Regions from separate parts of the Homo sapiens genome. Here regions 2, 3 and 4 are each linked to region 1. The links are contacts of gene promoters, found by promoter capture Hi-C in blood cells and fetal thymus (Javierre and others, 2016). All regions are on one chromosome and are shown on one strand. The core of a region is centred on a gene start or on the middle of the fragment in contact, and the rest is flanking DNA. Distances in the headings are between cores, read along the strand shown. Region 1 holds the start of GAS7 (growth arrest specific 7). Region 2 overlaps GAS7 (growth arrest specific 7). Region 3 overlaps GLP2R (glucagon like peptide 2 receptor). Region 4 overlaps GLP2R (glucagon like peptide 2 receptor).

Evidence for each region. Contacts are between HindIII fragments. The CHiCAGO score rates a contact against its expected background, and 5 or more counts as called.
Region 2: a fragment that was not itself captured here is called in contact with the fragment with the promoter of GAS7 in region 1 in 6 of 17 cell types (neutrophils, monocytes, M2 macrophages and 3 more); the score reaches 18.2 in neutrophils.
Region 3: a contact is called between a fragment that was not itself captured here and the fragment with the promoter of GAS7 in region 1, in 1 of 17 cell types (M0 macrophages). The highest score is 6.3, in M0 macrophages.
Region 4: a fragment that was not itself captured here is called in contact with the fragment with the promoter of GAS7 in region 1 in 1 of 17 cell types (M0 macrophages); the score reaches 5.1 in M0 macrophages.

The regions. Positions count from the first base shown.
Region 1 is chr17:10,196,948-10,200,280 of GRCh38, forward strand. GAS7 (growth arrest specific 7) reads right to left here and starts at 1,659. Exons shown (of 14, transcript NM_201433.2): 1 at 1,261-1,659. The coding sequence starts at 1,443. The HindIII fragment of the contact is 8,346 bases long and covers 1-2,648 here.
Region 2 is chr17:9,932,672-9,935,940 of GRCh38, forward strand. GAS7 (growth arrest specific 7) reads right to left here. Exons shown (of 14, transcript NM_201433.2): 9 at 1,495-1,573. Among named protein-coding and RNA genes, the nearest start is that of RCVRN, 29 kb to the left of the region's middle. The HindIII fragment of the contact is 9,972 bases long and covers 1-3,269 here.
Region 3 is chr17:9,887,288-9,890,344 of GRCh38, forward strand. GLP2R (glucagon like peptide 2 receptor) reads left to right here. Exons shown (of 13, transcript NM_004246.3): 12 at 645-686; 13 at 2,083-3,057. The coding sequence ends at 2,418. Among named protein-coding and RNA genes, the nearest start is that of RCVRN, 16 kb to the right of the region's middle. The HindIII fragment of the contact is 765 bases long and covers 962-1,726 here.
Region 4 is chr17:9,870,719-9,873,976 of GRCh38, forward strand. GLP2R (glucagon like peptide 2 receptor) reads left to right here. Exons shown (of 13, transcript NM_004246.3): 10 at 29-117. Among named protein-coding and RNA genes, the nearest start is that of RCVRN, 33 kb to the right of the region's middle. The HindIII fragment of the contact is 3,580 bases long and covers 60-3,258 here.

The sequences.
Region 1 (3,333 bases), core at 409-2,908:
GGTTCCTGCAACATACTCTGCTGACAGCCCATGAAAGCTCATTCCAGCAGCCCCTAAACTTTGCTCAAATGCTACTGATGCCTTTAGGAGAGATTTTGTTGTTCTCTGGACCTGAAAGCAATCTAATGTACTTTTATAAGGCCAGGCTCTTGCTGACAATGTTGCCACAGGATACATCCTCAGGCGGACTCACCCTGTAACCATTTCACTTCTTTCTTTCTTCCCCCCGCCCCCGATGAATTGCACTGAGCATTCTCAGTCAAAATTTGCTACTTTCTCTGTGAAGTAGGTCAAGAGTTAAATAATAAATAAATTCAGCCTCCATGATTTCTTCCGGCAGTGTTTTACCAGAATGTTTAGGAATACTGACACCATTGAAGGTAACTGTTAATTTAGTCTTTACAAGAATCCTGGGGGCAGGCGGGCTTCTAGTAAAGGGGATGTCCTGGAAGGTCACCCCCCCACACACAAAGGACTTTAGAAACTTCGGGTCTCACTCAGGCTGTGACTGCGAGCTCAGTGATTAGAGGACAGCCTGTCACATAGACAATAAACAGCCAGCCGCCTTGCCTCAGCAGGTCCTGTGCAGCCCTGGGGCCAGGCCAGAACCCCAGGAACAAGCCACTTTCGGGTTCTGAGCCTTAGCCTCGGGGAGCTGGACCAGGGGAGCAGGCAGTGGCGGGGGGTGCTACGGCACCCCAGGATCAAGCCTGCTGAGGGGGCTCGGGCTGGTGGCCAGCAGGCTCGGCTGACCAGCAAGTGGGTGGTCCCGAGGCGGCCAGGCAGCCTGACCCAAGGCAGCACGACCGTCCACGGGTCATCAGGCTCTAGACTCCGGGGTGGAGACGCGGGGCTGCGGGACCGAGTCGGTGCCACTTTCTCGCACCCCTGATCCTCCGTGCCTCTTCCCAAGACCGCCAGACCCTTCACCGGCCCCTGCCACTGCCGGGAACGCTCCCGCCTGCTCCTTAACTCACACAGGCAACAAGTTCTCGCTTCCTCAGAGCAGCCACGGTGTGCTCCGGAGGCCCGGCGCAAGGTGGAAGCTCCCCGCGAGTCCGCGTTGCCCACGCCCCGAGGGGCGCCCGCTGCCGTCGCTGCCCCCCAGGAGCGTGGAGCTACAGGTAGCGCCGGCAAGGGCTGCCCCCCGGGGCGCCCCTCCGACCGGGACGCTGCGGCATCCCCGGAACGGGCAACAGGTACGCGAGCGCACCGAGGACCGCAGCCCCGGCTCCTACAGCCCCGGCCCTCGCCCCTTACCTCCAGCAACTGCACGTAGCTCGCCGGGAACCAGCCACGGAGCCCGTCCTCCTTCTCGCCTTCCCACCAGCCGCCGTCCGGGACCTGCAGCAGCGTGATCAGCTCGCCCGCGGCGAAGCGCAGCCCCTGGCCGTGCCGCTCCCCGGAGAAGGGGTACAGGGTCCGGCAGCGAGCGCCGGACATGGCCTTGGCGCCCGGGTTCACAGCGCAGCCTGCATTCCCGCCGAGCCCCACGGGCTGGGCAGCGGCTCCGCGGGGTCCCAGGCGCCCGGCGCTCCGGGCTCCCGCGCTCTGGGCGCGCGCCGTCTCTGGGGTGCGCGGGGGTCCTCAGGCAGGCGGGGGACGCGCGCTCCGCGCCGGGAAGCAGAGACTCGTTGGCTTCGCAGAGCGAGCGGCGACGCCCCCGGGCCGGGCAGCTCGCGGATCCTAGCTCTGGGCTGGGGGGCGGGGCTCAGGGGGAGGAGACCCAGGCGCCGCGGGCTCCGGAGACAACTTCCCGGGAACGCGGAACGCGGGCTGCCGCCGCGAGGGCTGGCCGGGGCCGGGGCCGGGACCGGGGCCGGGGCCGCCCTGGCGCGCGGAAATGCGCAGCTCCCCCGGGAGGTGGGACCCGGAGCATCCCCCGCGGCAGGACTCCGCGGCGGGCGGCCGTGGAGAGGAGCTGGCGGCCGGGTGGCCGGGCGGGGGTTAGCTCACTGGCGAGGGGGCGGGCCGGGGCGGGGCCAGGGCGGCCACGCCCGCGGAGGGCTGCGCGCTCCCTCGCAGAGGGGCCTGTCACTGGGGAGAGGGGCTCCCACTCGCGCCCCCACCGCCGGGGACCGCGGGAATGGAAACGCCCCTCTGTTCTGTGCCTGCTTTGTAGGCCTGGCGGCCCGTGGCGTGCGGGCGGCTTCTTCGAGGTGTCTGCGAGGGATCGTTTGTGGTTGTCATTGTAGTGGTTGAACCTGGGGTTGAACTTGTCTCACCGGAAACTGAACAATGGGTGAAAGACAGGTTTGAAGCCTGGCGCCTGAGCCCAGCAGCCTGGTGGCAGCGTGGCACGCTGGAGGGACGGAATGGAGAGAAGACGGGGTCGGAGTTGATAGAATTGGAAACAGTCGATGGGGATAAATGGAGGAAAGGCGAACGGTGAGAGGAACAGCACCAATGCTTTTACTTGCAGAGGGAAGGCCGGCCCAGGGTACCAGCCCTCCCGAAATCGAGATGGGTTGGCTAAAGAGTCTACACTCATGTAGTCAGTCAACAAACATTACCAGGAGGCTGCCATGTTCCATGCGATGTGCCAGGTACTACAAACATCATTTGGGCCAGTCCCTGCTCTCCAGGGACCAGTGAACCTGAGTGCTGCAGAATGTTGACCTTGAACTGACCGTACAGAAGTAAAAGAAAGCTTGGTTTCTTTGCTAGTCTACTCCATAAAAAATTTTAAAGAAATAAAATAAAGTACATTTTTTAGCCTGTAAATAGCTGGACTCGGCCAGGCGCGGTGGCTCACGCCTGTAATCCCAGCACTTTGGGAGGCTGAGGCGAATGGCTCACTTGAGGTCAGGAGTTCAAGACCAGCCTGGCCAACAAGGTGAAACCCCATCTCCACTAAAAATACAAAAATTAGCCGGGCGTGGTGGCGGGTGCCTGTAATCCCAGCTACTCAGGAGGCTGAGGCAGGAGAATGGCTTGAACCCGGGAGGTGGAAGTTGCAGTGGGCGGAGATCATACCACTGCATTCCAGCCTGGGTAACAAGGGTGAAACTCCGTCTCAAAAAAAAAAAAAGCTGGACCCTTTAATACGCCTGTATACCTCTGTCTACTCCTTCCCCCCTCCCCCAGTCACCTTCTGTGGCTCCCTATTGCCTTTTAAATTTGGTACAAACTTCTCTGCCTGTACATTTCAGGCCCTCCACAACGCCTCCTCTAGCTTCACCTCTTACTATGACTGCCTAGATATCCATTACAAAACCAGTCAGGCCGGGCTCCAAGAGCCTGAAGATCTTGCGCACCTGTCTATGCTTTGAATCAGACCCTGGCACAGAGCCTTTCACCTAGTTCAATGGTTCTCAATCCTGGCTGCACATT
Region 2 (3,269 bases), core at 418-2,917, 260 kb before region 1:
AGAAATCTTGAGAGAAAGCAGACCTGAAAAGACTGGGGGTGGGGTGGAGATAGTCAGAGGGCTCTGTTCATTCATGACTCAATAAGAAAATATTTATTAAGCATCTACTACATGCAAGACACCATCCTGAGCCCTGAGGATGGGAATAGGACAGAAACACCCTGCCCTCGAGTCCTGGCACTAGTATCTTCAGAATTAAATGAAAGAGGGATGCTTTATGGTCGGGAGTGGTGGCTCACGCCTATAATCCTAGCACTTTGGGAGGCGGAGGAGGGTGGATCATGAGGTGAGGAGTTCAACACCAGCCTGGCCAACACGGTGAAACCCCATCTCTACTAAAAATACAAAAAATTAGCTGGGTGTGGTGGCAGGCGCCTGTAGTCCCAGCTACTCGGGAGGCTGAGGCAGGAGAATCACTTGAACCCGGGAGGCGGAGCTTGCAGTGAGCTGAGATCGCACCACTGCACTCCAGCCTGGGCGACAAAGCAAGACTCTGTCTCAAAATCAATAAATCAATAAATCAATCAATAAATAAATGAATAAATAAATAAAGAAGGACCCTTTACTTGTTCTGAAATTTTGCAACAACCACAAATTTAAAAAAAATTCTCCCTTTGGCATAACCTAATGTTCCCTGACACTAGGAAGAGACAGGACATCCTACTCCATCCCTTTGAAAGCCAGGCAAAAAGAAAGCAGGGCTTCGTCACTCAGGGGCTGCCCTGAGAAACTGGGCAGGTGTGCTAAGGCCTGCTCCCAGTGGCTCCCAAGAGCTGAATGTTAAATTTTCAGGAATTCTGTTTGCTGGTTGTTAAACACGGCCATTATCAAAAAGGAAATGATATGAACTTATAATTGAATAAAAATTATATTAAAAACGAAGGTAATAGGCCAGGTATAGTGGCTCATGTCTGTGATCCCAGCATTTTGGGAGGTAGAGGCAGGAAGACTGCTTGAAGCCAGGAGGTTCAAGACCAGCCTGGGGAAAATAGCGAGACCCCATCTCTACAAATAAATAAAAAAATTACCCAGGCATGGTTGCATACACCTGTTGTCCCAGCTACTTGGGAGGCTGAGGTGGGAGAATCGTTTGAGCCCAGGAGGCTGAGGCTGCAGTGAGCTATGATCATGTCACTGCACTCCAGCCTGGGCAACACAGTGAGACCTTGTCTTTTTAAAAATAACAAAACATAAAAAACAAAGGCAATAAATACCTAGCACTTACCACCTCCTAACTACACTTTACTATTTTCCATGCTCTTGGTGGATATTGATGGTTATTTGTGCTACTGTGTCTATACAAAAATGCACCACCTCATGGTGAGCCACTGGGCAGATATCTCTTCCCAACTCCGTATTCCGTGACTTCATGTTGATAGCCTGAAGTTTACACCAGGGAAAATGGCAAACGGCAAACTGGAGAGACAGTTGTTAACTATTTTTTAGTACCCCAGTGTGTAAGACCAACTGAGGGTGGCTGCAGGGAGGGGTTACCTTGGCAGAGAACTTGAGGTGAACTTCTGCTTCGTCCGCCAGGCTCTTCTTCACCTGGGCCCACGCCTCTCCCAAGGAGCTGCAACACAAAGACCATGAGACTCAGGTCACAAGCCAAAGCCCTTCCTGAGGCAGGATGGTGGGGCTCCACCCCAGGTCTCGGGGAGGTATATGACAGCTGAGAATGTGGACGCGGATGAGGCAGAAGTCAGGCAGAAACCAGACATGAGCATCACGTTTCAACTCACAGAGTCAGATGAGCCACCAAGGTCCAAGTGAGCTCACCTTACCTCTGGAGCTAAGGAAACAGACTGTGGCGCACAGCCAAGAGGTGGGGGGGGTGGGGATTCCTAGAAATCCAGAGGCTCGAAAGGACCCAGGAAGGTGCCGGAAGCAGGTGTGGGGACATTCCAAAGCCTCAGCTGCAGTGAGGGCCTTGACCCCTGGGCCGTCACTGTCCCCAGAGCTTTCACATCACCCCTCCCTGGTTTGCTGATGAGGGGTGCAAGCATCTGCTAATAAATCAAGGAAGGAAAACAGGTTCTATTCCAGGGAGAAGCTCTTTTCATTTGTTTATTAGTTTGTTCCTTGAGACAGTCTTGCTCTGTCGCCTAGGCTGGAGTACAATGGCGCGATCTTGGCTCATGGCAACCTCTGCCTCCTGGGTTCAAGCGATTCTCCTGTCTCAGCCTCCCGAGTAGCTGGGATTACAGGCGTGTGCCACCACATCCGGCTAATTTTTATATTTTTAGTAGAGACGGGGTTTTGCCATGTTGGCCAGGCCGGTCTCGAACTCCTGACCAACTGAGAGCAGCTGCAGGGAGGGGTTACCTCGGCCTCCCAAAGTACTGGGATTACAGGCATAAGCCACCATGCCCAGCCGGAGAAGCTCTTTTCAAACAGCAGGTATCACACAGCGCTGCTTATAGGAAAAACCCAGCTCCTTGGCTTCCAGGAGTGGGGAAGATGGACTGTGTGGGTCTAGTGACCTAGATGCAGCCACAGGGCAGAGAAGGCTCCCACGGCCATCCTAGGAAGCACGGTCTCCTCTAGCACTGCTTCTCTAGCTGTGAGCCCTGATGCTGCCCACAGCTTACTAGAGAAGGGCCAAGTCCTCTTAGCAGCATCACTTCTCCACTCCAAGGAGAGGCTTCACGTAGAAGAAATCTCCTGAAGTCCCTAAGACTTGCCAATGCAGGCCCCAGGCTACATTCTCTATGATTTGGAGCTCTTTAACCGCATGACCCTTCCAAGTGATACCCCCGCTTTCTTGCTCCCAGCCTCTTCAACACAGCCAGTAAATCCAGGCTGAATGTTCTGTTGACTTAATATCATCCAAAAGCCACTTCCCCCAGAGAATTCATTAAAGTCGAGTGGCAAAAGCTGAATAAAAGACAGCATGTGGTGAGGCTTCTGGGTCTGGAGCAGAGCAGCCAGCAGCGAAGAATTGCCCAACAGTGCACAGCAGATCCCTCTGATGGCTGGCCAGCCCTGTGTGGTGGTGGCGCAGGCTCAGGCCGAGGTGGGTGTTTATGGGAAATGACTGCCTGATTTTATCTAGGAGTCTAGCAGCAAAGAAAGGTCCCCTCAGTGATCCTGGCAGGGGAAGCCACCAGAGAAGCACTGGAGTATGAAACGGGGCAATCCAAGCTGTTGACAATTGTCTCTGCCTGAAGGGCCTGAGATCCAGGAAGCTGTACTGGGGCACTCCACCCCCTCTGGGTGGCTTGGGTGCCCCACCTGATTCAACAGGTGGGTAGGAGGTCCAGGGGTGG
Region 3 (3,057 bases), core at 94-2,593, 310 kb before region 1:
GAGCCAAGGCAGGCGGGTCACCTGAGGTCAGGAGTTTGAGACCAGCCTGCCCAACATGGTGAAACCCCGTCTGTACTAAAAATACAAAAAATTAGTCGGGCGTGGTGGCGTCCGCCTGTAATTCCAGCTACTTGGGAGGCTGAGACAGGAGAATGCTTGAACTCGGGAGGCGGAGGTTGCAGTGAGCCGAGGTTGAGCCACTGCACTCTAGCCTGGCGACAAGAGTGAAACTCCATCTCTAACAAACAAACAAATAAACAAACATTAGCCAGTGCCCACTATGACCAAGTAGAGATGCAACAGTGACCTTGCCCAATATTTGTATAATTGAATGAATGACACAAGGTCTTGGGGGTTTAATCATCATTGACCCATGTGCACCTGTGAACAATCTAAGCAAACACCTAGGCTGATATAGGCGGAGCAGGGCGGGCGGGGCGCTGGATGTCAAAGTAAGAACAGATGCCATGGAAATCCAAGTTAATGTAACCAGTATGACTAATTCTAGTTAGTGTAAGCAATGCAGTTGCACGCCTCTTCTGGAGACTCCTTACGACCTGTGCAGGGCTTTGGACGTTGCCAGTAACTCTCAGACACATCTTCTCCGGAGTCAGATTTTATGCCATGTCCTCCTTTTGTTTCAGGGGTTCCTGGTGGCCTTGCAGTATGGTTTTGCCAATGGAGAGGTATGATTTCCACGTTGCCATCCTGGTTTCATGTGAGGTTGGGACTGCAACCCTACCCACCTCTGGAGGTTTCTGTGGATGGGATGATGCTACGGGAGAATGTGCAGTGACCAGCATGTGTGGGGACAAATTTGTATTGTGAGCTTCCGGTACAGAGAGCAGGAGGCAGCTTAGACAAATGGAAAAAAGGTGTCGGGATGGGTATAAGGGAGTTCAGAAGCCAGCACTGGCTCTGCTGGAGATGCAAGGAGTATTCAAATGTGACAGAGGAAACAAGCTTGAACCTCAGAGTCCAAAAATCTGAATTCACGCCTTGGTTCACCCTCAGGAGTTCTGTGAGTTAGCTGGGTCACCGCACTTTGTTTAGCCTCACTTTCCTCATCAGTAACATGGGAGCAACAATCATCCCTGCTTTGTAGTCTTGCTCTGGGTATGCTGAGCACATAGCAAATAAATGCTCAACACCTGGGAACTATGATTACATTTTTTTAAAAATTATTTTTATTTTTTTGAGACAGAGTCTCACTCTGTTGCCCAGGCTGGAATGCAGTGGCATGATACCAGCTCACTGCAACCTCTGCCTCCCAGATTCAAGCGATTCTCATGCCTCAGCCTCCTGAGTAGCTGGGATTACAGGTGCCCACCACCACACTCAGCTAATTTTTATATTTTTAGTAGAGATGGGGTTTCACCATGTTGGCCAGGCTGGTCTCAAACTCCTGATCTCAAGTAATCCACCTGCTTCAGCCTCCCAGAGTGCTGGGATTACAGGCATGAACCATGAAGCCTGGCCTATTATTGCTTTTAGTTATTCATATTATTGCATAGCCCAACCAGCTCTCTGCTTCCCTGGGAAAAGATTTGACAGTGGGAGGGGCAGAGGCCAGAACAGGTGTTTTCTCCTGTCTTTAGGAGTTGGTAGAGTTTCCAACCCCTTTTCAACCTCCTCTCGCCCTACTACAAGTGTAAATATTTATTTCTGTCTCCTCCCATTATGTACTTCCACTTACATAGAATGTACATAGCTCACATTCTATGTAAGCTTCTTGACAGCAAAACCATCTTCTGTTTTGCTCACTGCTGCTTCTTCTGTATCTTCATGCAGGGGGCTCCTCACCTATCAAGCAGGTTTCAGCTCACATGCCACCCCGGCAGAGTCCTTTCCTGAACACCCTGTCTTAAGTTTTTGTTTCTTTACCGTATTGTCCTGCTTAGTACTCTCACAGTGTCATCACCACCAGACATGTTTATGTATCTTTGTTTCTCCTTGTCTCCCCCAGTTAAAAGGTAAATTTCCCAAGGGTGGCACAGAGTAGCTACTCAATTAATATTTGCTAAATGGACACATGGCTAAATGACTCCAAGACAGTAACCTCTCACTTGTCTCACCCGGCAGGTGAAGGCTGAGCTGCGGAAATACTGGGTCCGCTTCTTGCTAGCCCGCCACTCAGGCTGCAGAGCCTGTGTCCTGGGGAAGGACTTCCGGTTCCTAGGAAAATGTCCCAAGAAGCTCTCGGAAGGAGATGGCGCTGAGAAGCTTCGGAAGCTGCAGCCCTCACTTAACAGTGGGCGGCTCCTACATCTAGCCATGCGAGGTCTTGGGGAGCTGGGCGCCCAGCCCCAACAGGACCATGCACGCTGGCCCCGGGGCAGCAGCCTGTCCGAGTGCAGTGAGGGGGATGTCACCATGGCCAACACCATGGAGGAGATTCTGGAAGAGAGTGAGATCTAGGGTGGAGTTCCACCACCCTGGCTCTGCTCCCAGGGACTCTTGAGGGGGCCCAGGAAGAGGAAGCAAAGCAGGACACACGTTGCTGGGCACGGAATCATTCTCGTTCCATTCACCATGCCACTTTGATATGAAAGCTATCACAAGGTTCTTCAAGCTCTGTATGAAAGAGGCTGTGTGTCATGCTCACAGCCTCTGCCTGCTCTTCTCATCCTAATAACCCCCACCAGTGTGTTTTCCACAATGCCCACCAGACCCTAGGGCCTGGCTCTAAATTCAAGCCAATGAAGTCCCACCATGAAGAGAGGTCTCCTGTTATAGAGAAGCCAGCCAATATCTCTTCCTTTATCCCTTGGGGTGCATGCTTTCCATCTGAGGTTGGGTTTAGGGTGCGTGAAAACCTCCTAGGAAGCTTTTAAAATGCAGAATCCTAGACTTGTGGCTAAGATTCTAAGACAGTGAGTCTGGGACCATGGCCAGGAATTGGAGCTGTTTAATAAGCATCCCAGGTAATTCTGCTGCAAGCCCACCCTTGGAGAACACTGGGCAGGGTGAGAGGGAGCTAGAAGCGCCCCCATGTGGCCATGGCAGGATGCTGCAAGAGACAGTCTGCTCTCCCAGGTCAGCTGGGGTGTGCCTGCC
Region 4 (3,258 bases), core at 600-3,099, 330 kb before region 1:
CTTACCCAATTCTGCTCTTTTTTTCAAGGTCAATTTCTTCATCTTCCTGAAAATTCTCAAGCTTCTCATTTCTAAGCTCAAAGCTCATCAAATGTGCTTCAGAGATTATAAATACAGGTGAGTGGCTTAAGGTTGGTCCCCAGCAGTCCAAGGTTATTGTAAGTACTCTGGCTGTTCTGCCCGCTGTCTTGGGAAGGACATTTATCTCCTAAGGCCAGGGTATCAGAAAGAGCAGTTCTGGGAAGGTGCTATAGGATCAAGTGAGGCTTTTGTCAATGGTGAGGACCTTCTATGACGATGAAGCAAATGGTGAGTAGTCAAGGGCATTCACATCCCCCAGCAGAAAACTGTTAAAATGCCCCTAAGAGGGCAGGAGTGATGTCTCAGACCTGTAATCCCAGGACTTTGGGAGGCTGGGACAAGAGGATTACTTGAGGCCATGAGTTTGAGAACAGCCTGGACAACATGGTGAAACCCCGTTTCTACCAAAAATACAAAAGTTAGCCAGGCGTGGTGCATGCCTGTAGTCCCAGGCTAAGGTGAGGGGCTTGCTTGAGCCCAGAAGGTCGAGGCTGCAGTGAGCCATGATTGTGCCACTGCACTCCAGCCTGGGTGACCCTGTCTCAAAAAAAAAAAAAAAAAAGTTTCTAAGAATGGGTGGTTGTGGGAAAAGGACAGTCTTGTTTGAAGAGAAGTTTGGCAGTTGCCTTCCTTGGGGAAGGATTTGAAGAGAAGAGATTATTTGGGTGTTTTTGAGACCTTGAGAAATGAGACCACAAACTTTTAGGGTCTAAGGAAAGACATCCTTCCACAGGCATCCTTTAATTGTGACTTGTTGTCGCTGCATCTCACCTTCCTCTTTCTGAGATGACAGCAGTCCTCATTCATAGTCAGTCAGATCATAGGTATTTATTAGATCTGCATTGTTGTAAAAGCAAATGAATGAATGAAGAGAGATAAAGGGTTTCCTCCCTCTTTTCCTAGTTATTCTTTACTTTCTTTCTTTTTTTTTTTTTTTTTTTTTTGACAGAGTCTTGCTCTTGTCGCCCAGGCTGGAGTGCAATGGCATGATCTCAGCTCGCTGCAACCTCCACCTCCCAGATTCAAGCCATTCTCCTGCCTCAGCCTCCTGAGTAGCTGGGATTACAGGCACCTGCCACCACGTCCGGCTAATTTTTGTATTTTTAGTAGAGACAGAGTTTCACCATGTTGGCCAGGCTGATCTCAAACTCCTGACCTCATGATCCACTAGCCTTGGCCTCCCAAAGTGCTGGGATTACAGGCGTGAGCCACCACACGTGGCCTATTCTTTGCTTTCTATGTGGCATATGCATTCAGCAGGGCTCTGGAACGGGAGTGTTTTAACCCACAGAGTAGCTCTAAGAGTAGGAATTTCAGTCCACACAGGAAGGCAGAAGAGGTGGGCACGAGTGAAGATGGCCCTAGCCCTGTTTCTCTCCCCTTTATAAGGCCTCACCCAGGTGCTGGGAAGGGAGTTTTTCCTTTTATCTGACAAATATTTAATAGATGCCTACAATGTGCCTGGTACTGTGCTTGGAATAAAAGGTGGACATGAGGCCAGGTTCGGTGACTCACGCCTGTAATCCCAGTACTTTGGGAGGCCAAGGTGGGCATATCACCTGAGGTCAGGAGTTCAAGACTAGCCTGGCCAACATGGCAAAACCCTGTCTCTACTAAAAATACAAAAATTAGCTGGGTGTGGTGGTGTGTGCCTGTAATCCCAGCTACTCAGGAGGCTGAGGCAGGAGAATCACTTGAATTCGGGAGGCGGAGGTTGCAGTAAGCCGAGATCGTGCCATTGTACTCCGGCCTGGGTGACAAGAGCAAAACTCCATCTCAAAAACAAACAAACAAAAAACGGTGTACACGATGTAGACCCTGCATTTGAGGAGCATGCATTCTACTTTGCTAAGGACTAGGATGTTGGCATGGAGCAGGAGGTGGAACGGAGGGAGCTGGCCACGACCCTAGACTTGCCTACTGGCCTTAGGCAAGTGCCTTGGCCCCTTTGGCCTGCTTTCTGGTGTGTAAAAATGGGAGTGTCACTGCAGACTCATCTCCTGCTTATTATGAGGATTCAAGGAGTCTGTAGATATGGTTATAAATATGGGTGGCCACTCTACCCTCCCTCTAGGAGGTCTAGAAGGGTAAACATACCCGGTTCAATAATGGGCAGACATACTATAGTTGCTAGTTGGAGCTTTGGTCCAAACATTTTGCAAGAAACCCGTAGCCCTGGGGAGCCGGCCTGGCCTGGGCTCCAGGGAGCCACGCTGTCTCTCTTGGCGCCTCCAGTCGAGGCTCCAAGTGGCCAAGCAGTCTCTCTGGCTCCCTTCCCAAAGGCTTAGCCTCTCTCACCACTCTTTCAGGGTGGAGCTTCAAAGCCTGCTCTAGTCCACCCTGCTGGGTGCACTCAGGGAGGAGAGTTCTCTCAATAAACAGGTGCCAGGAAAACCAGGGTGCCCCAGAAAGTGGACAGAGGCTAGTGTTTCCAGGAGACAGAAATGGTGCAGTTGACCCCAAAGGGACTCAGAGCTGACACACTGCTGCTTTGTGCCCCCAAAGCCTATCACGGGCCACTGGCACCTTCGCCATGCCCAAGACCCACAGCAACCCCTAAATAGTTTTTCATCATAGCTCCTCATCAGCATCCCCGGACAGCTGGCCAGAAGTGCAGCCTTGTGAGCCCTACCACTGGGTATTCTGACTCCATAAATGCGGGATAGAACCTCACAGAGCAGCCGTGTCCAACCCTTTGAATGGAAGGACATTTTTGCTTATCCGTTGTGGTGGATATCACAAAAACTATGCATGGACTTTTTTTTTTTTTTTTTTTTTTTAGCTCATCAGCTATTGTTAGTGTTAGTTTATTTTACATGGGGCCCAGGACAACTCTTCTTCTTCCAACGGGGCTCAGGGAAGCCAAAAGGTTGGATACCCCTGCTGCAGAGTCTCCCAGGAGATTCTGATACACAGCCAGTGTGGAGGACTGCTGGGCCAGATGTTCTATTGAAAGAACACATGCTAATGAATAAGCATTAGTTAATCAACTCTATTGCACTCTGCAGAAAGAACTAGTAAACAGAAAGGTGGCCAACGAAAATGGCAGGGAAACCACAGAGGGAGGACGTTCTCAGTGGAATATTCTGGTCGGGCCATTATAAATGTCATGCAGCCTCAATGTTCTCTTTTCCAGAGTCCCCTCTAGAGTTTTCAGACTTTTCTGATCACACATCT